Regions from separate parts of the Homo sapiens genome. Here all the other regions are linked to region 4. The links are contacts of gene promoters, found by promoter capture Hi-C in human tissues and cell types (Jung and others, 2019). All regions are on one chromosome and are shown on one strand. Each heading gives the region's core, a stretch centred on a gene start or on the middle of the fragment in contact. The rest is flanking DNA. Distances are from core to core; before and after follow the strand shown. Region 1 overlaps LOC105372859 (a long non-coding RNA gene). Region 2 overlaps HIRA (histone cell cycle regulator). Region 3 has its middle 19 kb from the start of SEPTIN5. Region 4 holds the start of CLDN5 (claudin 5). Region 5 holds the start of TBX1 (T-box transcription factor 1).

Region 1 (4,876 bases), core at 1,465-3,964, 200 kb after region 4:
CACCATGCCCGGCTAATTTTTTGTATTTTTAGTAGAGATGGAGTTTCACCGTGTTAGCCAGGATGGTCTCGATCTCCTGACCTCGTGATCCACCCGCCTCGGCCTCCCAAAGTGCTGGGATTACAGACGTGAGCCACTGCACCCGGCCCACAAAGTATTTTCTAATTTCCCTCTTGATTTCTTCTTTGACCCATTGGTCATTTAGAGTGTGCTGTTAAATTTCCACACCTTTGTGGGTTTCCCAACTTCTCGACTTTCTTTCTGTTATTGATCTAATAGTATTCCGTTGTGTTTTTAAAAATACTTTGTATTATTTCTATCCTTTACATTTACTAAGGTTTGATTTACAACCTAGCATATGCTGTACCCTGGAGAATGTTCCTTGTCTACTTGAGAAGATGTGTATTCTACCTAAGTGGGGTTGTGTTGCTCACGTATGGCCACACCACTTCCCTTTCACCATTCCACTTTCTTAACCCATGCTAACCACCAATCTGTTTTCCATTTCTGTAATTTCCTGATTTCAACAATGTTATGTCAATGTCATGCTTACCTAACCTACTGGATTTTTTTTTCACTCAGAATAATTATCTGGAGTTAATTTAAGTTGTTGTGTATATTATTACTTCATTAGTTTTTATTTATTGCTAATGAGTATTTCATGGTTTTGCTGCACTGTTGATTTAACCATTCATCTGCTCAGGACATCAGGGCTAGTTTCAATTTTTGGTGATTACAGTTAAGCCCTGATATTAAATTTTTTGTGTGAACATAAGCATTTGATTTTGTGGAAGCAATTCCCAAGAGGGCAACTACTGGGTCTTATGGTAGCTGCAAGTGCAGTTTTTTTCAAGATGACAAAGTATTTTCCACAAAGCTGTACCATTTTACATTCCAACAATGGATGAGTGATCAAGTTTTTCCACATGCTCACCAGCATTTGTTGTCACTATTAATTTTAGCCATGTTGACAGGTGTAACTTTAGTTTGCATTTCCGTAATACCTAATGATGTTCAACATCTTTTCATGTGCTTATTTGCAATTCATAAATCTTCAGTGAAATATAGTAATTTTCATGTCTTTTCCCCTTTTTTTGAGACAGTCTTACTCTGTCACCCAGGCTGGAGTGCAGTGGTGTGACCACAGCTCACTGCAGCCTTACCCTCCAAGCTCAAGTGATCCTCCCAGCTCAGCCTCGTAAGTACTGGGACTACAGGCAGGCACAACCATGCCAGGCCAATTTAAATTTTTTTTTGTAGATGGGATCTCACTACACTGCCTAGGCTGGTCTCGAACCCCTGAGCTGAAATGATCCTCCTGCCTTGGCCTCCCCAAATGTTGGGATTACAGGTATGAGCCACCATGCCCAGCCTGTTATGTCTTCTCGAAGAATGGATCCCTTTGTCATAGGGATCATGCCCCCTTTGAGCATAGAGTACTTCATAATATTCCTTTACTATCTCACTTTCCACTGTGATGTAATGTGTTGCGGGAAGTCAGGGACCCTGAACGGAGGGACCGGCTAAAGCCATGGCAGAAGAACATAAATTGTGAAGATTTCATGGACATTTATTGGTTCCCCAAATTAATACTTTTGTAATTTCTTACACCTGTCTTTACTGCAGTCTCTGAACATAAATTATGAAGATTTCATGGACACTTATCACTTCCCCAGTCAATACCCTTGTGATTTCCTATGCCTGTCTTTACTTTAATCTCTTAATCCCATCATCTTTGTAAGCTGAGGATGAATGTCGCCTCAGGACCCTGTGATGATTGCGTTTTCTGCACAAATTGTTTAAACAATGTGAAATCTGGGCACCTTGAAAAAAGAACAGGATAACAGCAATGTTCAGGGAACAAGGGAGATAAGCTTAAAGTCTGGCTGCCTGTGGGCCGGGTGGAACTGAGCCATATTTCTCTTCTTTCAAAAGCAAATAGGAGAAATATCACTGAATTCTTTTTCCCAGCAAGGAGCATCCCTGAGAAAGAGAATGTATCCCTAAGGGGAGGCCTCTGAAATGGCCGCTTTGGGGACGTCTGTCTTTTATGGGCATAGATAAGGGATGAAATAAGCCCCGGTCTCCCGTAGCGCTCCCAGGCTTATTAGGATGAGGAAATTCCCGCCTAATAAATTTTGGTCAGACCAGTTGTCTTTTCTCAAACCCTGTCTCCTGATAAATGTTATCAATGACAATGCATGCCCAAAACTTCATTAGCAATTTTAATTTCGCATTGGTCCTGTGATCTCACCCTGCCTCCATTTGCCTTGTGATATTTTATTACCTTGTGAAGCACGTGATCTCTGTGACCCACACCCTATTCATACACTCCCTCCCCTTTGAAAATCACTAATAAAAACTTGCTGGTTTTGCGGCTTGGGGGGCATCACAGAACCTGCCGACATGTGATGTCTCCCCCAGACACCCAGCTTTAAAATTTCTCTTTTGTACTCTTTCCCTTTATTTCTCAGACCAGCCAACACTTAGGGAAAATAGAAAAGGACCCAGGTGAAATATCGGGGGCTGAATTTTACCCGATAGTAATGCCCCTTTTATCCATGATAAAAATATTAGCAAATCAAATCCAACATTGTATGAAAAAAATACAACATGACCAAATGGGATGTATTCCAGATATGCATACTTGTTTAATGGTTGAATATAAGTTATTGTAATCAATCACATCAATTAAGTTAAAAAAGAAAATCATGATTATATCAATACATTTAGAAGAAGCATTTGACAAATCTAACACCTATTCATGATAAAAACTCTCAGCAAACTAGGAATAGAAGGGAACTTTCTCAATTGATGAAGAACATCTACAATAATTCCACTATGTATGTATGTATGGCTAACATCATACACTACTTAATGGTGAAAAATTATATGCTTTTCCCCTAATATCAGGGAAAAGGCAAGGATGTCTCTTGTCACCACTCCTATTCAATATTGTACTAGAAGTCTTAGCTAATACAATAAGACAAAAGAAGGAAATAAAAGTATAAAAATTAGGAAGAAGGAAATAAAGTATAAAAAATTGCAGATAACATGACTATCTATGTACAAAATCCCAAAGAATCAACAAAAAACTCTGAGAACTAGTAAGTTATTATAGTTACATTGCAGGATATAAGGTTAACATACAAAAGTTGATTGCTTTTCTTTAACCAACACTGAACAATTGGAATTTGAAATTGAAAATTTAATACCTCTTACATAAACACCAAATAATCAAAATACTTAGGTATAAATCTAACAAAATACATACAAGCTTTATATGAGGGAAACTACAAAACTCTGATGAAATAAATAAAAAATCTAAATTAATAAATGGAGATAAGTTCCATGTTCATGGGTAGGAAGACTCAACATTAATGTGTTAGCGCTTACCAATTATAGATTCAATTTAATTCCAATAACGATTCCAGCAAGTTATTTTGCAGATATTGACAAGCAAATTCTAAAGTTTGTATGGAAAGTCAAAAGATGCAGAATAGCCCACTCAATATTGAAGACAAGCAGGGCCAGAGTACTCACACTACTCAACTTTGAGACTTACTATGAAGCTACAGTAATCAAGACAGTGTGACATTGGTAAAGGAACGGAGTAGAGAACCCATAAATAAACCCAAACAAATGAAATCAACTGATCTTTGATGAAGGAACAAAGGCAATTCAATAGAAAAATATTAGTCTTTTCAATAAATACTGCTCTAATAAATGCACCTGTAGTCCCTTCTACTCAGGAAGTTTTGCATTTTACACATGCAAACATAAAAAAAAGAATCTAGACAGAAATTTTTAACTGCTGCTCTGAGAACATCATTGCTAAGAGAATGAAAACCCACAGACTTGGAGAAAATATTTGCAAATAACTTTTCTGATAAAGGATTTGTATCCAATATATACGAATAACTCCCAAAATGCAAAAATAAGAAAATAAGCATTCCAGTTTAAAAATGGACAAAATATCTGAACGGAGCTCACCAAAGAAGATATACATATGGCTATAACCATATGAAAAGACGCTCTACATCATATGTCATTAGGGAATTACAAATTCAGAACACAATGAGAATTAGCTGGGCATGGTGGCATATGCCTGTAGTCCAGCTACTTAGGAGGCAGAAACAGGAGGACCTCTTGAACCCAGCAGTTTGAGGCTGCAGTGAGCCATGATCATACCACTGTACTCCAGCCTGGGCAAGAGAGTAAGAACCCATCTCTAAAATAAATACATAAATAAATAAATAACAAAAACAACAATGAGAAACCACTATACACCTATTAGATAGGCTAAAATCCAAAAACCTGACAGTATCAAATGCTGACAAGGATGTGGACATAGAAAAACAGGAATTCTCATTCATTGCTCTTGAGAATACAGCCACTTTGGAAGATGATCTAGTAGTGCCTTCCAAGCTAAACATAGCCTAACCATATGGCCCAGCAATTTCACTCCTAGGTATATACCAAAATTAGTTGAAAACTTATATACACATAAAAACCTACACATGAATGTTTATAGCAGCTTTATTCAAAACTGCAAAAACTGGAAGAAATCAAGATATCCCCTCAATTGGTGAATGAACAAACTGACACATTCATACATTGGAATATTATTCAATGATAAGAAATGAGCCGGCTGGGGGCAGTGGCTCAGGCCGGGCACGGTGGCTCATGCCTGTAATCCCAGCACTGTGGGAGGTCAAGACAGGCAGATCACCTGAGGTCAGGAATTCAAGACCAGCCTGGCCAACATGGTGAAACCCCTTCTCTACTAAAAATACAAAAATCAGCTGGGTGTGGTGGTGCGTGCCTGTAATCCCAGCTACTTGCGAGGCTGAGGTAAGAGAATTGCCTGAACCCA
Region 2 (5,090 bases), core at 2,309-4,808, 160 kb after region 4:
TTTGCCTGTTCCAGGTTGTCATATAGTTAGAATCACCCCTTTTCTTGTATTTATTTATTTACTTATTTTTTGTTCTTAGAGATGGGGTCTCATTATTTTGCCCAGGCTGCTCTCAAGCCTCTGGGCTCGAGCAGTCCTCCTGCCTCAGCCTACCAAGTAGCTGGGACTACAGGCATGAGCCACTGTGTCCACCTACTATTAATCTGTCTTTGTCTTTTGTAGTTAAAATTAAATTTTTAAAAACATAAACCCATTTCTTTTTTTTGTTTTTTTTGTTTTTTTTTTTGAGACGGAATCTCACTTTGTCACCAGGCTGGAGTGCAGTGGCACGATCTTGACTCCCTGCAACCTCTGCCTCCTGGGTTCAAGCAATTGCCCTGCCTCAGCCTGCCGAGTAGCTGGGACTACAGGCACACGCCACCACACCCGGCTAATTTTTTGTATTTTAGTAGAGACAGGGTTTCACCGTGTTGGCCAGGACGGTCTCAATCTCCTGACCTCAGGTGATTCACCCACCTCAGCCTCCCAAAGTGCTGGGATTACAGGCGTGAGCCACCGTGCCCGGCCTTATTCTTTTTTTTTAATCTTCACTTCTTTTTATCTTCTTTTTCTGCCTTCTCTGGTTTTAGCTGAGTATTTTATATGATTCAGTTTTCTCAGCCAGGCATGGTGGCTCACGACCATAATCCCAACACTTTGGGAGGCTGAGGCGGGTAGGTCACCTGAGGTCAGGAGTTCAAGACTGGCCTGGCCAACATGATGAAACCCTGTCTCTACTAATAATACAAAAATTAACCAGGCGTGGTGGCACACACCTGTAATCCCAGCTACTTGGGAGACTGAGGCAGGAGAATCACTTGACCCCAGTAGGTGGATGTTGCAGTGAGCCAAGATCACACCATTGCATTCCAGGCTGGGCGAGAAGAGTGAAAATCCATCTCCAAAAAAAAAATGATAATAAAATAAAAATAAATTTTCTCTCCTCTCAGCATTATTAATTATGCTTTAAAAAATTTTTTTTAGTGATTGCTCTAGAGTTTACAATAAACATTTATAACCTAACTCTACTTTCAAATAATATTATACCACTTCATGGGTAGTAGAAAGAGTTCCCCACTCTTTCCTTCCATGCCCTATGACATTGGTACCACTTATTTCACTCATTCATAAACTATAGTAATTCAAGACATGGTGGCTGTTATTTGTTTGAACAGAAAGTTGTCTCTCAGATCAGTTGGGAATATGAAATACAAAAGATTCTATTTTATGTTCATTGTTTTTTTTCTCTAACATCACTCTTCCTTTCTTCATGCAGATGTGAGTTTCTGGCCTGCATCATTTATCTTCTCTCTGAAAGACTTTTAACATTTCTTGCAAGGCAGGTCTTCTGGCAACAGATTCCGGTGTCTCTTTGTTTATTTTTGTCTGACAAAGTCATTATTTCTCCTTTACTTTTGAGGCATAATTTCACTGGACACAGAATTCTAGGTTGGCAAGAGGTTTGTTTAAGCACTTTAAATATTTCACTTCACTCTTTCTTGCATGAATGGTTTCTGAAGGGAAGTGTGATGTAATGTTTTTGTGCAGGTTAAAAGAGCAGAACCTTGTGAAAGAGCTGAGGCCCCGAGACCTCCTGGAGAGCAGCAGTGACAGCGATGAGAAAGTCCCTTTGGCTAAGGCTTCCTCACTGTCCAAGCGAAAACTTGAGCTTGAGGTAGAGACAGTAGAGAAGAAGAAGAAAGGGCGGCCTCGGAAGGACTCTCGTCTCATGCCTGTGTCTCTGTCTGTCCAGGTGAGGCCAGTGGGCCCATCCTGCCTTCTTTAGCCCACCTTTCTGTACTTAGAGCTTGAAGGCCCTGTGTGCATGGTAAGCCTCAGCTGGGTGGGTCACCTTGGGAACCAGCTGGCTTAGACATGCAGCCCCTGGAATGTAGCATGGAGGCCACGCTCTCCCTCAGATGTGCCCTTGACTCACCCAGGGCCCTTGAGCAGGTTCCCTGGCATCAACTGGCTTGTCCATGAGGTTAGGATCCTTGTAGCATTCCCCTCTGCTTCCTCCCTCCCAGGGTGGAAATGCTCTGGTCGCAGGCTCAGCCTCACTTCTGGGTGACCTGCCTTTACCAAATGCTACCCCGTAGTGTTAGAGCAAGGCTCAGGAACGTTTCTGGCTCTTCCAGTCTCCAGCTGCCCTAACCGCAGAGAAGGAGGCCATGTGTCTGTCTGCACCAGCACTTGCACTGAAGCTGCCAATTCCAAGCCCCCAGAGAGCATTCACCCTCCAGGTAAGTTCTAGGACCCTGCCAGTTCTCCCTCAGGCACACCCAGACATTCTCTGTCCCCTACTGCATACAAATCCTATCTTGTCACTTCCTTGGAGATTGGTTTCCAGTGGCTCTCCATCACCTTCTGGGAGAAGTCATAGCAGATCGGGGTACCCACCAACTCTTAGCGAAATTGCCAGCCTCCACTCTCACTCACCCATAGCCTCTGTCTGGCTTTGCCCTTGGGATTCCAGCTGCTGGGGCTGCCATTACCACCACATGTTCTGGTGCTCTTCAGGACTCCTCTCAGGTGTCCTGGCTGGAAGCCACCTCCACCTCCACACACAGCCCTGGGCAGCCTCAGGCTTGGTGTCTGTGGGAATGTGTGGTCATAATCTATCTCCCAACCATCCTGCTAGCTTTGTCTTCTCAGTGTCTGGCACAGTCAATCATCAGAGTTGTTTGAGCTCTTGGAATGGAAGCTTGTAAGCATGTGGTTATCCAAAACACAATTCTGGAGTAAATAATCCTTTATACCCAGAGCCCTCCTGGTCACTTGGCCCAGCATAGTATCTAGGCCTCTCCTGCCATGGTGCCGTCACACACACTGCTGCCTCTCTGCATACCCTTGTACCTCAGCTCAGGTGCGTGTCCTCGAGCAGCCTTCTTGGACCCTGCTTGCGGGTCACTTCCCACTGGCTACACACTGCTCTGAGCCCAGGTTGGTCCTCACAGGGCACCAGAGAGCAGGCGTCAGCCCTTCCTACCATAGGTCCTTCTGGGCCACAGTGCAGAGGAATGAAGCAGGGAAGCCAAAGGGTAGGAACCCATAGGGTTTGTTCTTATTGCTGGTGTGAACGGAGGCAGGGGCCCTCCAGTGGTCAGCAGCGTTCAGACGTGCTCTTGCACTCAGAGGTGTTCTGACTTAGGTTCCCTCCTGGGTGCCCTGCTTCTCAGCACAGAACTCTCCCAAACTCCTCCAGCCCTTCCCCTAGGCATCTTGCCCTCCAAGCACTGCTTGGGACTGTCATTTCTGGGTCTGTGAAGGGGGCAGTCAGCCCTCGGCCCAGCTCACCCACTTGAGTGGCCACACAAGCACAGACTGTTTGGTGGTTCTGCCTATTTTACCACAGGGAAAATCTGTTGGTCAGCTCCCCACACACGCGTGTGGCTGAGCCCATTTGGTGCCAGACACTGAATTAGGTGCTTTTCATACATGCTGTGCCATAAACACCCCTGCCAGTTTAGTCTCAGTTGAGCAGACCAAGTCTCACCACCACAGGAACTGGAGAGCCCCTTTGGGGGTTTTCTAAACATTCCCTCCAAGCACTGACATGGTCTCTAATCTTGCCAAACACTGCCATCTTTGAAGATTCTTCAAGTAGGAGGCTAGAAACCCAAGTCTCACTCCCAGCTCGGTCCTTTGCAGTGTGCTTTTGGGCACGTTACTCCCTTGTGAGATGAAGTGGCAGGGTTGGGAGACTTTGGGGTCTTTAACCCTGGCACTGCTTCTCTTCTCTGGCTGTTCAACTACACAAATGACAGGGTAGAAACCAGCTCCCAGCATTCTCCCTGCCTTGGGGGCCACATGTCTGGCCCTCTGGGCCTCCCGCTCAGCCCCTTTGCCCTACCTGCCCTCCCTCTCCTCTCTTGGCCAGCCAGTCTGCCTCTGTATCCTGCTGCTGCCTTGGGGCCCCAGGCTACAGAGCCTTGGAGCATGTCACCTGGGCTGCGGCCCTTGTCTGAGCAGACCCGTGTGTTTACTTCATCCAGGTCAGCTCCGATCCTTCCATGTACATTGAGGTGGAGAATGAAGTGACAGTGGTGGGGGGCGTGAAGCTGAGCCGCCTGAAGTGCAACCGGGAAGGGAAGGAGTGGGAGACGGTACTCACCAGCCGGATCCTCACTGCTGCGGGCAGCTGGTAAGGGTGGGCAGGTCCTTAGCCGGCCCAGGTGACACAGGCACACATGCCATCATTCTGGGCCTGGGCCTGTCTAGGGGAGGTGCATGACCCTGGGAGCACCAGCTCCCACAGAGACTCACACCAGGCTTCACTCCAGGCCAAGCATATGTGCTTGTCATCTCAGTCCCTGCAGCACCCAGCAAGGTCAGCATCAGTATCCCCGTGTTACAGATGGGGAAACTGAGCCCTTGAGGGTTACCCAGGCCAAGCTTTGAACCTGATGGCCTGATTCCCTTGTCCAGCCAGATCCCCAAAGTCTCGAATTCCACACTGAGGTGTGCCTGGCTCACCTTGACCTGGGCTGGTTCCTTTTTTGGATCCCAGATTTCCATCCAAGTTGGTCAGGATGGATTTCTGACTGTCCCTGAAGTCCCCATCCCAGCCCATGCCAGATTCTGCACTGTGAGGGGGACCTTGATTCAGTGATTAGTCACCCAGTATCTTCCCCTGGGTTCCTAGAACTGTACGTGAGCCCTGTCCCTACCTGTGTTCAATGTGGAAGGGGAACCAATGTTTCTCCTCAGGTTCCTGTCTGATGTAGCATCCCAGTCAGGACCAGATACAGTCATCATAATTACACCCTTAATCATCTGCCATGAGGTCCCATGTAAATGCTTTTACTTGTGTCAAAGCACATGGCCTTAGGTCTTAGACCACAATTCTCGTGGGCCCTGAGTGAGTTTTGTGTTTTTAGGCCTAGGGGACCCCACTGTTTGTTCTGTTCCTCCCTCAAATTCCCCCTCCAGATGAGCCATTTAAATTCCCAGTCCCAGGCACCTGTGTATCAGATGCTTCCACAGGCTCCCACTCTCTGTCCCTCCCCTCAAGGCAGGTGGCTTGCCCAGCTGAGGGCTAAGGGGTGTCG
Region 3 (5,512 bases), core at 2,004-4,503, 170 kb before region 4:
TGTAGCCTCAAACTCCCAGGCTCAGGCAATCCTCCCACCTCAGCCTCCCCAGTAGCTAGGACCACAAGTGTCCACCACCATGCTCAGCTAATTTTTAAATTTTTTGTAGAGACAGGGTCTTGCTATGTTGCCCAGGCTGCTCTCAAACTCCTGGGCTCAAGCAATCTGCCCACCTTGGCTTCCCAAAATGCTGTGATTACAGGAGTGAGTCACCACACCAGAATTATTTTCATTTTAATGTTATCTTTTGAGAAACAGATGTTTATAATTTTGATAATCCAATGTATCAATTTAAAAATTTTATATTTCATGCTTTTTGTGTCCTTTCCAAGAAATCTTTGCCTACTGACTCCAAGCTTATACATATATTCTCCTCTGTTTCTTCTAGAAGCTTTGCAGTTTTATTGTTATGTTTAGGACTATAATTTTATCTTGAATTAGTTTTTGTTTTGTTTTGTTTTTTTGAGATAGGATCTCACTTTGTCACCCAGGCTGGAGTGCAGTGGTGCGATCTCTGCTCACTGCCACCTCTGCCTTCCAGGTTCAAGTGATTCTCATGCCTCAGCCTCCTGAGTAGCTGGGATCACAGGCATGTGCCACCACCCCCGGCTAATTTTTTGTATTTTAGTAGAGACGGGGTTTCACCCTGTTGGCCAGGCCGGTCTCGAACTCCTGGCCTCAAGTGATCCACCTGCCTTGGCCTTCCAAAGTGCTGGGATTACAGGCTTGAGCCACTGCGCCCCACCTTGAATTAGTTTTTGCGTACGGTGTTAGGTAGAAGTCAAAGTTCATCCTCCCAATTTATCCAATAGTTTGAGTGCTATTTGTTTAAAATATTTGACTTTCCCCATTGAATTGCCAATTTCATCTTTGATGAAAATCAATTGGCTACATGTTGTGGGTCTCTCTGTGCACTTTATTCTGTTATGAAATGCTGCATAACATTATCTATTGCTGCATAACAACTCAAAACTTAGTGACTTAAAATAGCAATTTAGTCTTACTATCTATCATGGTTTCTGGGGGTCAGGAATTCAGGATATCTTAGCTGGGTAGTTCATGCCATTCCAGGCAGACAGTGGCTGGAGCTGGAGCAACTGGCTGGACATGTTTCTTTCCATGAAGTCTTATATCATCTCTGCAGGTAGACTAGCCTGGCAACTATCTCTGCAGGTGGACTAGCTTGGCAACCACCTCTGTGCAGGTGGACTAGCCTGGCAACCACCTCTGTGCAGGTGGGCTAGCCTGGCAACCACCTCTGTGCAGGTGGGCTAGCCTGGCAACCACCTCTGTGCAGGTGGGCTAGCCTGGCAACCACCTCTGTGCAGGTGGGCTAGCCTGGCAACTACCTCTGTGCAGGTGGGCTAGCCTGGCAACGTTGAAAGCATGGTGGCCCCAAGTCTCTGTGCATAGTGCTCTGGCACCCAAGGCAGATGCTGCATTATCTCTTGCGCCCCAGCCTCAGGAGCTCTGTAGCATCAGTTCTGTGGCATTCTATGGTTTATAAGGGAATGAGATCACTGAGATTCACAGATAGTATCAGGGTTCTGGAAGAGCATGTGGGATAGAAGGAAGTGTTGTGGCCATCTTTGAAAAATACAATCTGCAGAATCTCATCCTTTTAAACAATTTTAGTGAATCTTTTATCTCTCTGTCACAGACTGGATAATGTATATTTGTCTGTCTCTGGACAGCAGAGTGGGCAGTGGGAGGACTCCCCAAAGGCACAGCAGAGGCCTGGGGCCAGGGCACTGACAGTGGAGAGGGGATGGGGGCCATCCCTGTGTACAGTCACACCTGGTCACAGCTGTGTGGCACCAGATGTGGTGCGGGAGGTGGGGGAGGCATCGGCGTGACCAGCTGGATGATGGGCAGGGCCATCGGTTGTCTCTGTGACAGCCTCTGAGACACGGGCGCAGGGGTCTGGTGGGGGCTGTGTAGGTGAGGCTAGAGCCCACTGGGGAAGTGTTCCTGGGGGGCTGGGGGCTGCGGGGGGTGTGGGGGAGGAGATTCCCGAACAGAGCAGGGAAGCCAGGCCGGTGGTGTGTGCTGCTGGGGAGCTGCTGAGGCTCCTTCCCGCCCTGCTGCCCTGTATCCTGACTGGGAAACAGAGCCCCGCACAAACAAGGCTGTTTGGGTTGGCTGGGGTTCGCTGGGAGGATTGCAGTGCTGAATGGAGCCATCTCAGGCTCCAGGAGAGGCGCTGAGTGAGAGAGCACATTCCGTGGTGACTGTAGGCCTGGCGCTGTCCCGCCCAGTTTGGGGAGCAGGCTCTGTGTTGTGCTTGGCCAGCTCACTCCAAAGGAGCAGTGCCTCGTGGGGGCAGCAGCGAGTCTCCAACGGCCGGGGCGTGTTTCCTGTGCAGACGACCCCTCCTCGCTGAAACTCATGATCCAAGGAGATACCTAAGAAAGCAACTCCTGGCCGGGCGCGGTGGCTCACGCCTGTAATCCCAGCACTTTGGGAGGCCGAGGCGGGTGGATCACGAGGTCAGGCGATGGAGACCATCCTGGCCAACACGGTGAAACCCCGTCTCTACTAAAAATACAAAAAATCAGCCGGGCGTGGTGGCGGGCAACTGTAGTCCCAGCTACTCGGGAGGCTGAGGCAGGAGAATCGCGTGAACCCGGGAGGCGGAGCTTGCAGTGAGCCGAGATGGAGCCACTGCACTACAGCCTGGGTGACAGAGCGAGACTCCGTCTCAAAAAAAAAAAAAAAAAAAAAAGAAAGCAACTCCTGACAGAGGGCAAGCGGCTGGGACCCTGGCCCAAGGTGGCTGCACTGCCCTCGGCAAACTACCCAGTGCCTTGGGTCCAATCGGGGGTGGGGAGACGCTCTGGGGACCTCCCTCGCCTCTCCTTGCCTGGCCACCTCCTGGCAATATTTCCCGCCTCTTCTGCACTGCTCGCTGACCTTTGCTGGTGTCAGGCCTTTGTTCAGGCTTGTCCCCACTTTTTAGCACGGTTTAAGCAAAGTTTAGAGGAAATTTTTCTAAATTTCGGTAAAAATTTGAAAAACATTAAAAAATTTCTCAAAGTTATTTTAGCAAATGTGCTTTTGTCTGGAGGCCGGCTCCTCCTGGCTGTGCTCTGAGCCTGCTGGCATCCCCGACAGGGCCTGCTGCCCCAGCACTGCTGCTTGACCAGTGGCTCTCCTGCACATTTCATTTTTCACTTACACATTAGGCTCTCCCTCAAGGGAATCAGCCCAAGAGCAGGGCCCTGCGGGCCTTGTCCACACTGCTTCCCCGAGGCGCATAGAAATGACTTCTCCCCACCCTGCGCAGTGACTCGTAATCCCAGATCGCTTGTGCTCAGGAGTTTGAGACCAGCCTGGGCAACACGGCGAAACCCCGTCTCTACCAAAACAAACAAACAAACAGCTAGGTGTGGTGGCGCATGCCTGTGGTTCCAGCTTCAGGAGGCTGAGGTGGGAGCATCACTTGAGCCTGGGAGGCAGAAGTTGCAGTGAGCTGAGATCGCGCCACGGCACTCCAGCCTGGGTGTCAGAGTGAGACCCCATCTTGAAAAAAAAAAAAAGAAAAGAAAGAAATGACTTCTCCCGTGCAAAACTGATCCAAGGGTCTCTCATGATTTTTGTTGTTCATTTGCTTTAGTGTAGGCAGTGTGAAGACCTCACCTGGGTGTGCCACCAATGGAGGCTGCAGGCCCCGGCTCCAGTGAAGGCTGGTGCTGCTGCTGCCCTGTCCAGGACGGCTCTGCATCTTCCTCCCAGAAGCCCAGACTCCCCTGTGGGCTGCCCACCTGGCTGCAGCTCCTGAATGTCTGGTAGGCATCACACCCTTCATGGATGCACCTGCAAAGAAACTGCACTGTGCTTGCCCGGGGGTCCCCCGTCTGACTGGTGACTGCACCATTTGCTCAAATAAAATCCTCAGGGTCACCTACTTGTCCTGCATTGGATCCATCAGCAAGTCCTGCCGATTCTATCCCTAGATGCATTCAAAATGTTCTCGCCTGGCTTCATCACCACCTGTGTCTGTGTCCTGAGGCACTGCAGACCGGTGGCTTAACCACAGGCATTTATTGTCTTGTCTCGGAGGCTGGGAGTCCAAGATCAAGGTGTGGGCAGGGCTGGTTCCGATTGAGGCCTCTCTCCTTGCCTTGCGGGTGGCACCTTCTCCCTGAGTCCTCCCGGAGTTGTCCCTCTGTACATGTCTGTGTCCCAATTTCTTCTTAGAAGGACACCAGTCATATGGGATCAGGACCTACCCCCTCATGAATTTATTTTAACTTAACTACCTCCTTAAGGACCCTACCTCCAAATACACATTCGGAGGTCCTGGGGGTGAGGGCTTTGGTGTGGAGTTTTGGAAGGGAGAACATAAATCAGTGCATAACAACACCCATGCCACCCTCATCCCTGCTGCCTCCGCTCAGGCCTTCCATCTGGGGCCACACTCGTCCTCACGTAGCAGTGCCGACTGTTCAGGTCGCCACTCCACCTGAGCCATGCGCACAAGACCCACGTAAGGAGACCTAAGGCCTGGAACTTAGACTCTTGGGACGCCTGCCCGGGACGAGGTCAGCAGGCCCCTCACTCTCCTAGACACAGGGGCCTGCGCACTGCCCGGAGTCTCCCAGTCCTTCTCTGTGCCAGCACGGATTGGTATTTTATTTTAAATGACAGCTTTATTGACACAATTCAAAGACCATACAATCACCCACTCAAAGTGTACCAGTCAGAAGTTGTTGGCATATTCAGAGTTGTGTATCCATCACCACTGGGTAACTCTAGAACATTTTAAACTGAGACGTCATTCACACACCATAAAATCCCGACACGTGCCCCAACACCGATGAACCTTGAGGACGTTATGCTAAGAGACGCCAGCGACGAAAGGGCAGATACCATGTGGTTCCACGTATGTGAGGTGCATAGAGTAGTGAGGTTCATAGGCACGGACAGTAGAATAGGGGTTGCCAGGGGTTGGGGGCAGGGGATGAGGGGGGCTGCTGTTTAATGGGGGCAGGTTTTAGTTTTGCAAGATGCATAAAGTTCTGAAGATGGATGGTGGTGACGATTATACAACACTGTGAATGTATGTAATACCACTGAACTGTGCACTTAAAAATGGTCTGGGTGCTGTGGCTCACACCTGTAATCCCAACACTTTGGGAGGGCGAGGAGGGCAGATCACCTGAGGTCAAGAGTTTGAGACCAGCCTAGCCAACATGGTGAAATCCTGTCTCTACAGAAATACAAAAATTAGGCCGGGCACAGTGGCTCATGCCTTTAATCCCAGCACTTTGGGAGGCCGAGGCAGGCTGATCACGAGGTCAGGAGATCGAGACCATCCTGGCTAACACGGTGAAACCCTGTCTCTACTAAAAATACAAAAAATTAGCCGGTGTGGTGGCGGGCACCTGTAGTCGCAGCTATTCGGGAGGCTGAGGCAGGAGAATGGCGTGAACCTGGGAGGCGGAGCTTGCAGTGAGCTGAGATTGCACCACTGCACTCCAGCCTGGGTGACAGAGCAAGACTCCGTCTC
Region 4 (5,514 bases), core at 1,706-4,205:
AGCCCCTTCCCACCTCTGGGATCTTGCACTGGCTATTGCTTCTGCTCTGCCTGGAACTTCTTCCCCGGATCCCTGTGAAATGTCACCTCTTCAGAGAGGCCTTCACCACTGTCTTTCCTGCCCAGTTCTTGGTTGATAGGTTCCTGTCAGCTCCTTCTGGGCAGGAGCTTCTTGTGCTGTGTGCTCTGCCTAGAGACAGTGCTTGCCACGAAGTAGGTGAGCAGACCCTCCATGAGTGGCAGGAAAGGTGGGTGCACCCTCATGCCCCTCCGGAGTCTGGCCTGGGCTACTCAGAGGCCAGCCTCCATCTGAGGTGGGTTTGTCTGGGGTGGCGTCAGCCCCTGCGGCCCTCTCTGGGCCTCTCTGCATTGGCATTGTTCCACTGCAGCCTGGGGCCTCGACCAACATAGTGGGGTCAGGGTAGAAACCAGATTGTGAAAGGTGAAGCCTGAGACTCCTCTGCCACGTCCCTGAGATGCTGTGAGGCTGCCGCCAAAGAAACATGAGCTTGCTGGGGCCACCCTAGGGTGACAGCTAGGAGAGAAGAAAAACAGGCAGCCAGGTGAGAAGGGAGAGCCTTGGGCTGGCTGCAGCTCCAAGCTGGCTAGAGGGCAACAGGCAGCCTCCTGTGCAGGACAGACGCATGAAGACAGCCACCCTGTGGAGGTTATTCCTGGATACTAGGTGGGAAAGTCGGCAAGCAAAAGGACAGGTCCAGCTCAAGCTTCTAAAAGCAATGCTGGGGGACGGTGCAGCAAGGTGTTCCTGGAAATGACCTCGGCAACACATCTTAGAAGATGAGCAGGACCCAACCTGACAGATACACGCTGCGGGCAGAAGAGGCCAAGGTAAGAGACGGCCCATGTGAGGCCCATAGGCAGGTAAGTCTCCTGGGGCAGAGTGTGTGCTCAGGGCCGCACCAAGACTGGTGGCTGGACTGGCCAGTCCTAGCGCATGCAGGTACACATCAATCCAGCTGCTCTGGGAGTCGGCTCTTCGTCCATGGGCAATGTGAGCCATGGAGGGTCTTAGGTAGGGTGAGGCCCAGGAGAGGGGCCTGGTGGGGTGGGTGGCCTAGCTGGGCAAGGGCAGGTCCCTGATGACCTGAGGAGGCCGCAGCAGTCATCCCAGGAAGATGGTGGCATGGAAGGGCTGGGAGTAGGGGGATCTGGGGAAGTTCCCTGGGCTTGGGTTAGGGGGTAGTAAGAGTGAGAGGGTGGGTGGGTCAGCTGTACCCCTGGAGTACACAGAGGAGGAGATGTCCAGGAGGGTCTGTAGAGGAAGGGGCATGGCCCATGGGTCTGCAGCAGGAGGAAGGCAGTGACTAAAGTGATAGCTGGGAGAAGGCAGTGGTCCTCAGAGCCATACCTGGTGGGGAGAGGCCACGTGGGGCTGAGCAAAGAGGGTATGATTTCCTTCCAGCCTCAGGGCTGGGCACACTTGCCTTCAGAACCTCCCCACACTAGGTGAGCCAGACGCTGGCCTTATCTCATTTACCATCTCAGAGCCATCTGAAGGGGGAGAAGGGAACCGGGCCCCAGGAGGGAGAAAGTCATCAAACCTCCCACATCTGTGACCAGCCTCAGTGCCATACTTTTTCTATGGAGGGCCCTGTCCAATGGAACTGAGCACAGACCAGATAAAAGAACTGGGCACCCAGTGGCCTCAGTCCAGGGCCTGGAGTTCAAACTTTACTGGAAACAAAGGGGCCGAGAGAGACTGGGGAAAGAACTACTAGAAAGGGGCTGGTGCCCCCATGGGGCTGTGGGTTTTGGAGCCGCGTGCCCCCACCTGAGCCTCAGGGGGCCCGGAGTGTCCACACCAGTGGACCTTTCGAGAAATGGCTGGGCCATTGTGCAGAAGAATGCCCGGAAATCCCGCGCCTCCCTCCTCCAGCAAGGATGGGGGCTCTTCCTCCTGGCCAGGAAACTCCAAGTTGGCTTCCGGAGGGTGGCCTGGGGGCTGGGGTGCCAGGGACACCATCGCCACTGGTGGGAGGGCAGGGCACAGCCCCTCCGTGTCCCTTTGTCTCTCCTGTCTGAAGGCCAGAGCAGGCTGCTAGGCCTGGGGCCACCACTGCCCCTGGGTGCTACACCCAGTGTGCTGGGTCACTGGGAACTTCCTGAAGTGGTGTCACCTGAACTGGGCCCCCAAGGATGGGGTGCGGGCAGTACCGCAGGAAGAGGAGCAGCCCCTGTGAAGATTGAGAGGTCTGGGAAGCCCCTGCGGCTTGGGAGAGTGGGGGTCGCCAGGCAGGGGGAAAGCCCCTGTGCCACCGCTTTTTGCCAGAGACTCAGGCTCCAGAGAGGCAGTGAGTGGCATGGGGGGTGAGGCTGGGGCCCTGGGCCTGACCTCCACACGCCTGCCTGGCCTCTCTGTTTGCCATGGGATGAGAGAGACAGTGCTGGGACTCAGAGCGGGGCTGGAGAGTGAGAGTGCGAGAAAGGGCCTGGGTGGGGCTTGGACCCCGGGGCGGGCTTTCTGGAGAGCCCCCCTACGAGGGCCTCTACGGCGGTGACGGGGTGGGGGGCTTCTGCAAACCTTGGTCAGGGAAGTGGAGCTGGCTCGAGTGGAAGAGACCACCCGGCTCAGTCGGGGATGTGGGAGTGGACTGGGTGGTGCAGACTGGGGGTCGAGCGCCTTCTGAAGTGACGGGGCCGGGACGCGCAGGGAGGCGGCCCAAGAAGCGCGCCCTAGGCCAGCCCAGAATGCGCTCGGCCGCGACTAGGACAACGGCGGGTGGGGCTGGGGGCGGCTGCCGGGCGGGGAGCGGTCCCGCGCCCTCAGCTACCCCTCAAGAGCCGTTGTTTCCCTAACTTCAGCTGCCAGAGGCTCTGTGATTGGCTGCGGCACGATGACCCGCGCACGGATTGGCTGCTTCGGGCCGGGGGGCCGGGCCCGGGGGACAGAATCCGCCCCCGAACCTTCAAAGAGGGTACCCCCCGGCAGGAGCTGGCAGACCCAGGAGGTGCGACAGACCCGCGGGGCAAACGGACTGGGGCCAAGAGCCGGGAGCGCGGGCGCAAAGGCACCAGGGCCCGCCCAGGGCGCCGCGCAGCACGGCCTTGGGGGTTCTGCGGGCCTTCGGGTGCGCGTCTCGCCTCTAGCCATGGGGTCCGCAGCGTTGGAGATCCTGGGCCTGGTGCTGTGCCTGGTGGGCTGGGGGGGTCTGATCCTGGCGTGCGGGCTGCCCATGTGGCAGGTGACCGCCTTCCTGGACCACAACATCGTGACGGCGCAGACCACCTGGAAGGGGCTGTGGATGTCGTGCGTGGTGCAGAGCACCGGGCACATGCAGTGCAAAGTGTACGACTCGGTGCTGGCTCTGAGCACCGAGGTGCAGGCGGCGCGGGCGCTCACCGTGAGCGCCGTGCTGCTGGCGTTCGTTGCGCTCTTCGTGACCCTGGCGGGCGCGCAGTGCACCACCTGCGTGGCCCCGGGCCCGGCCAAGGCGCGTGTGGCCCTCACGGGAGGCGTGCTCTACCTGTTTTGCGGGCTGCTGGCGCTCGTGCCACTCTGCTGGTTCGCCAACATTGTCGTCCGCGAGTTTTACGACCCGTCTGTGCCCGTGTCGCAGAAGTACGAGCTGGGCGCAGCGCTGTACATCGGCTGGGCGGCCACCGCGCTGCTCATGGTAGGCGGCTGCCTCTTGTGCTGCGGCGCCTGGGTCTGCACCGGCCGTCCCGACCTCAGCTTCCCCGTGAAGTACTCAGCGCCGCGGCGGCCCACGGCCACCGGCGACTACGACAAGAAGAACTACGTCTGAGGGCGCTGGGCACGGCCGGGCCCCTCCTGCCAGCCACGCCTGCGAGGCGTTGGATAAGCCTGGGGAGCCCCGCATGGACCGCGGCTTCCGCCGGGTAGCGCGGCGCGCAGGCTCCTCGGAACGTCCGGCTCTGCGCCCCGACGCGGCTCCTGGATCCGCTCCTGCCTGCGCCCGCAGCTGACCTTCTCCTGCCACTAGCCCGGCCCTGCCCTTAACAGACGGAATGAAGTTTCCTTTTCTGTGCGCGGCGCTGTTTCCATAGGCAGAGCGGGTGTCAGACTGAGGATTTCGCTTCCCCTCCAAGACGCTGGGGGTCTTGGCTGCTGCCTTACTTCCCAGAGGCTCCTGCTGACTTCGGAGGGGCGGATGCAGAGCCCAGGGCCCCCACCGGAAGATGTGTACAGCTGGTCTTTACTCCATCGGCAGGGCCCGAGCCCAGGGACCAGTGACTTGGCCTGGACCTCCCGGTCTCACTCCAGCATCTCCCCAGGCAAGGCTTGTGGGCACCGGAGCTTGAGAGAGGGCGGGAGTGGGAAGGCTAAGAATCTGCTTAGTAAATGGTTTGAACTCTCTCCCACCTGTGTCCTGTTCTCTGTCCAGCCATCTTCCGTGTCCAGCAGCCCCATTCATCACCCACCAGCCCCGCCCTCCCAAGGACTCCTGTGGAGACCTCCTCCCAGGGCTGGAGGCTGGGGCTCTTTTCCCCATCCTCCCTGCCACCTTCCCACCAGGTGGGAGACACAGCCACCACTTACTACAGCCCAGAAAGGCGGGATCTGCGGTCAGAAGAGCTGCTGCGTCATGGGGCCCTGGGGCCCGGGATGGGACAGGGGCGGGGGCAGCGGCAGACCCCAGCAGAAGATGCGGGGTGAAGCGCCCTCAACACAGGCTGGTGAGTGGGGGTCCTGCGGTGTGGGAAGTGCTGGGGGTGAGCAGCCAGGCCGCTGGCTTCTCCCAGAAAGGGCCAAGCCCCACACAGCACAGGGTGAGGTTTTCCACTGCCCTCTCAGGGCTTGCCTAGTCCCAAGCCCCATCAAGTGGCCACAGAGGTCTGTAGAATCCCCGACCAGGCCCTTTCCAATGGTGGGTGGGGCAGGAACAGGGGTGAATGCAGGACACGCCGGTCAACAGTAGGGTTGCCATGGGAGGAGGTGCTGGCAGCTGGTTGCCTGGAGTACCACAGCTTGGCTCTAGCCCCTCGTCCTGGCTCCTCTGCCAGTCCCAGCGCAGCTCCCTACAGAGCCTGTACCCACCCTGCTGGCCTGGCAGCCTGCCCAGAATGGTGCTCACAACCAGCACCTGTGCCAGCCCCTGCTGGGGGCACTCTGGGTAACCTTCCTCCTCCAGGGGCTGTGTGGCCTGGGAGTCAGTGCTGGCCCCTGCCAGGCACCTCGGAATGGGGGTGTCTAGAGCCATCTAACATAGCCACTGAGAGCTCACTGTTTTTAGCCTTGTTCTAGGCACTTTGAATTAACACATTTTTGACATTTGACATAAAGCTAGAAGCAGAAGAGAGCAGCTGATGAAGGGGGCATGCTGCAGGGAAGAGCTCTAAGCCCAGCCGGAAGGGAGACTTGGTATCTGCCCCAAACTGGACTTGGGGGCCCTGCCCAGAAATGTCTGGGCCACATCCAGTGGCAGGGAGTCTCCTAGGTCTGGCCAGGCTACCATCATGGAGCAGTGGGAGAACCCCAAGAATGCAGGCTCAGAGTGGCTTAGGGCAGCTGCTGGAATGTGTGGCAGCTTCC
Region 5 (3,197 bases), core at 697-3,196, 240 kb before region 4:
TGGCGCAGCAGGGGAGCCTCCTGGGCCGTTCCTGGACACAGAAATGGCCAGCCCAGCGCTGGAGCCCCCACCTTCGGCAACCTTGGCCTACATAAACTCGGCCTCGCCCTTGCTGACTTTTTGGCCTCTTGGTCCCAGCTTCGGCCGGCAGCAGGGTGCCTAACGTGCGCCCTTAGCAGAGCCTCCCCAGCTTGATCGAAGCAGCTCCCGGCTCCAACAAAGTGAAACCGGGTAGTCCTGTGTGAGTTCAAGGCGTCCCCGCTGCCCTTTTAGCTGGGTCTTCGGCTGTTACCCAATCCCCTCAGTGAGGCCAAGGCTCAGAGCCCTCCCTCCCCTGACTCTCAGGGCCCCTCTCTATCATGGCCCCATGATAAGAGTCTCCCCACCTTCCTCAGGGCACAGGGCAAGCTTCCACTCCCCTTAAGACACATAACCCCAAGACGCAGCTACCCAGAGTGTACTCAGTTTGTGTCTTTCCTGTTCCTCAAATCTCCCCCGCTTTGGACCCTGGCTCAGTGACCAGTCAGGGCTCTTGAAAGGACATTCTGCAGTGCCTGGACGGGTGTAGGCCATGGGCTACCCCCACATGATGGCACAGCAGTAGTGGCCGTGGGGCCCTTCAGGACAACACAAGGATTGGCCCTCACTTGCCGTCCCCTCTGCCTCCCCTCACAAGCAACTCCCTGCAGGCGGTGGGCAGAAGACAGATGCCAGGAGCCAGCCTCTAGGACAGGCCCGCTCCCTCCCCCACCCGAAGCCTCTGCAGGCTGGAGGGTGCTGCGGGACGTGGGCTCCCGGGTGAAGCCCAGCGCCGACAAGGCCCTTGCCGGGCTGGCCTGAGCCAGCGGCTGGGCTGCCGCTGTCCTCAGGAGGGCCTGTGTGCCTGGGGACAGCAAGGAGGGCCTGGAAAAAAACCACAGAGCTGGAGCAGAGCACAGGCCCAGGTTCCTCAGAAAGGACGCCGGCAGCAGGGAAACAGAAACCACGAGAAGGCTTTGCAAACAGGCCCTGAGCTCCCCTTGGCTGTTCGGACTCCGAGCTGGTGTGTACATTAGACACAGCGCGGCACCCGCCTTTGTCTACCGGTCAAATCGGGTGCATCTGCAAAACTTGTTCCCCTTGTCTCTTGGTCTTTAAAACAAATACAGGCCGGTTGGGAGGTGACGGGCCGCTGGATACAGAGCCAGGCCCCACAACTATAGGGATCTAGGTTGAAGGAAACTGGGTAGCAACTTCCACGCAACAGTGCACGCTGTTTTTAAGGGTAATCCTCTCCTGAAAGTGTCCAGAGAGTTGCCCGGCTGCCGCTCTTTATCTTGCCCGCATAGACTGAACTCCAGAACTGAACCAGAGTTTTCTTGAGGTGGGATTTACTAGGAGTCGGCCGGGCGGTGAGGCCCCCTGGACGCCGCTGCCTGCCCCCAGCCGGGTGCGCCCCAAGCCGGGCCGGTTTCTGGGCCGCGCGGCGTCCTGGGGCTGCGGGGCGGGCGGGCGAGTCCCGCGGGGCTCCTCGCCGTTCCCGTGCGGCCCGCGCCGTCTCCTCCCGCCCCGGCGGAGGATAGGTGTTAGGAGGGGAGCGCCGGGCGGCTGTCGCCGGAGCCGGGACGGCGAACAGCGAAGGAGGCAGCGGGGCCCAGAGGGGCCCGCAGGTGGCCAGGCCGCGCCCCCGACCCGGCTTTCGGCCCCGCTCGCGCGGATCAGGCGGAGGCCCGCAGCCCTGGCGGCAGCACGTGGGGAGGGTCGCGGCGTGGGGAGGGGCGCCCTGACCTGCCGGCCTTGGTGACGATCATCTCGGTGCCCAGCTGGTTGAACTCGTCCCACAGCGCCTTCATCTCTAGCTGCACGCTCACACCGGCCACCTTCGCGTTCTTCTTCACCGGCGCCTTGGCTGCGGCCGCGCAGCTGGCCCCGGGGCCCTCGGGCTCGGCGGCGGCGCTGGTGGCGGCCCCGGCGGCCGGCGCAAACGGGTAGGCGTGCGGCGGCGGCGGCGGGCCCGGGGCGCCGGGGGCGGCGGCGGCGCACGGGTCGTAGCGCGGCGGCGGCGGCGGGGGCTCGCGCGGGCCGTACGGGTCGGCGCCGGGCGACGCGGCGCCCGGGAAGCCCCCCGCGGCCCCCAGGCTGCTCAGGCTGCTGGCCGTGAAGGCTGCAACGTCGCAGAAATGCGAGAGCTGCGTGAGCCACGGGCTGGACACGGCGGAGATCATGACCCGCGGGCCGCCGCCGCCGCCCCCGCCACCAAGCTGAGCGCTGCCCCGCGCCGCGGGCCGAGTGGCGGGCGCCGCGCTGCGTGCGCCCCGGGCCGTGCAGCCCCACACCGCAGGCCGGCCCCGAGGAGGCGCCCCGCCCCGCCCCGCCCGGGGCCCCCCCACCCCCGCGCGGAGACAATGGACTAGATCCCTCCCCCGGCCCTCGCCCCTCCCCCGCCCCTTCCCCCTCCCCGGCCCCCAGCCCGCCCGCCGCGGCTCGCTCGGCCCGGGGCCCCCCGACCGCCCGGACCGGCTCACCGGTGCGCCGGGCCCGTCGGCCGGCCCTCGCTCTGCCGCCCGCCCGCGTGCGTTTCTCCTCTCTCTCTCCCAGACGTTCTTTTCCTAATTTGTTATTTTACCTTTGTCGTCCTCATTTAAATTTTCCCTCCCGATCATCTTTTTTCTTCCCCTATCTCTGTAGTTTCTCTTTATTTCTGTTTTACTTTCCGCCTCTTCCCCTTTTCCTCCATCCTCGCCTTCCTTTTCACTTTATTTTTAATCATTCTTTGTCTTTCTTTTAGTCGGTGCCTTTCCTCTTATTTTTGTATGTCCTTTGTTTTTTATGTTTTTCTTTTTAAAAAAAAAAAAACTAAAGTCTTTCCTTTTTTTCTTTTTTATGACTTCGCTTTCTGTCTTAAATTTTCCCTTCGTTTTCTCTCTTCTCTTTCGCTCTTGCTTTTTATTGCCTTTTCGTGTCCTTCTGTTTCTCCCCTACCTTCTTCTTTGGGTTTTTTGTGTTTTCTCCCCTTTGCTCAATTTCGTCTCCACGGCTTCCTCGAGGCTTTCTCTCCTTCTGTGAAACTCTCCCGCTCTCTCCTCTCTTATTAACTTTCCTCCCCCCTCTCCAGGCTCACGGCCACCTCTGCTCTCCTTCCCAGCCTCACTCGCCCTCTTCCGGGCCTGTGTATACCTGAGTGCCCATCTCCAAGCTGGGCCCCCAGGCTGGTGAGG

The links. Contacts are between HindIII fragments. The study calls those that stand out against the background at their distance.
Region 1: a contact is called between a fragment that was not itself captured here and the fragment with the promoter of CLDN5 in region 4, in 4 of the 25 tissues and cell types used here (dorsolateral prefrontal cortex, lymphoblastoid cells, spleen and 1 more).
Region 2: a fragment that was not itself captured here is called in contact with the fragment with the promoter of CLDN5 in region 4 in 2 of the 25 tissues and cell types used here (dorsolateral prefrontal cortex and spleen).
Region 3: a contact is called between a fragment that was not itself captured here and the fragment with the promoter of CLDN5 in region 4, in 4 of the 25 tissues and cell types used here (H1 embryonic stem cells, IMR-90 fibroblasts, dorsolateral prefrontal cortex and 1 more).
Region 5: a contact is called between a fragment that was not itself captured here and the fragment with the promoter of CLDN5 in region 4, in 2 of the 25 tissues and cell types used here (dorsolateral prefrontal cortex and mesendoderm cells).

What each region holds. Positions count from the first base shown.
Region 1 is chr22:19,317,540-19,322,415 of GRCh38, reverse strand. All of the region lies in intron 1 of LOC105372859 (a long non-coding RNA gene), which reads right to left. Among named protein-coding and RNA genes, the nearest start is that of CLTCL1, 28 kb to the right of the region's middle. The HindIII fragment of the contact is 4,176 bases long and covers 627-4,802 here.
Region 2 is chr22:19,358,429-19,363,518 of GRCh38, reverse strand. It overlaps HIRA (histone cell cycle regulator), which reads left to right. Exons shown (of 25, transcript NM_003325.4): 16 at 1,588-1,792; 17 at 2,178-2,282; 18 at 4,035-4,183. Among named protein-coding and RNA genes, the nearest start is that of CLTCL1, 69 kb to the right of the region's middle. The HindIII fragment of the contact is 5,675 bases long and covers 721-5,090 here.
Region 3 is chr22:19,692,696-19,698,207 of GRCh38, reverse strand. No RefSeq gene overlaps it. Among named protein-coding and RNA genes, the nearest start is that of SEPTIN5, 19 kb to the left of the region's middle. The HindIII fragment of the contact is 5,757 bases long and covers 375-5,512 here.
Region 4 is chr22:19,521,851-19,527,364 of GRCh38, reverse strand. CLDN5 (claudin 5) reads left to right here and starts at 2,955. Exons shown (of 1, transcript NM_001363066.2): 1 at 2,955-4,338. The coding sequence starts at 3,110. The coding sequence ends at 3,766. RefSeq lists an enhancer at 4,340-5,272. The HindIII fragment of the contact is 10,668 bases long and covers 1-3,185 here.
Region 5 is chr22:19,759,851-19,763,047 of GRCh38, reverse strand. It overlaps TBX1 (T-box transcription factor 1), which reads right to left and starts at 2,270. Exons shown (of 7, transcript NM_001379200.1): 1 at 1,768-2,270. The coding sequence starts at 2,204. RefSeq lists enhancers at 1-356, 516-1,215. The HindIII fragment of the contact is 5,066 bases long and covers 1-3,197 here.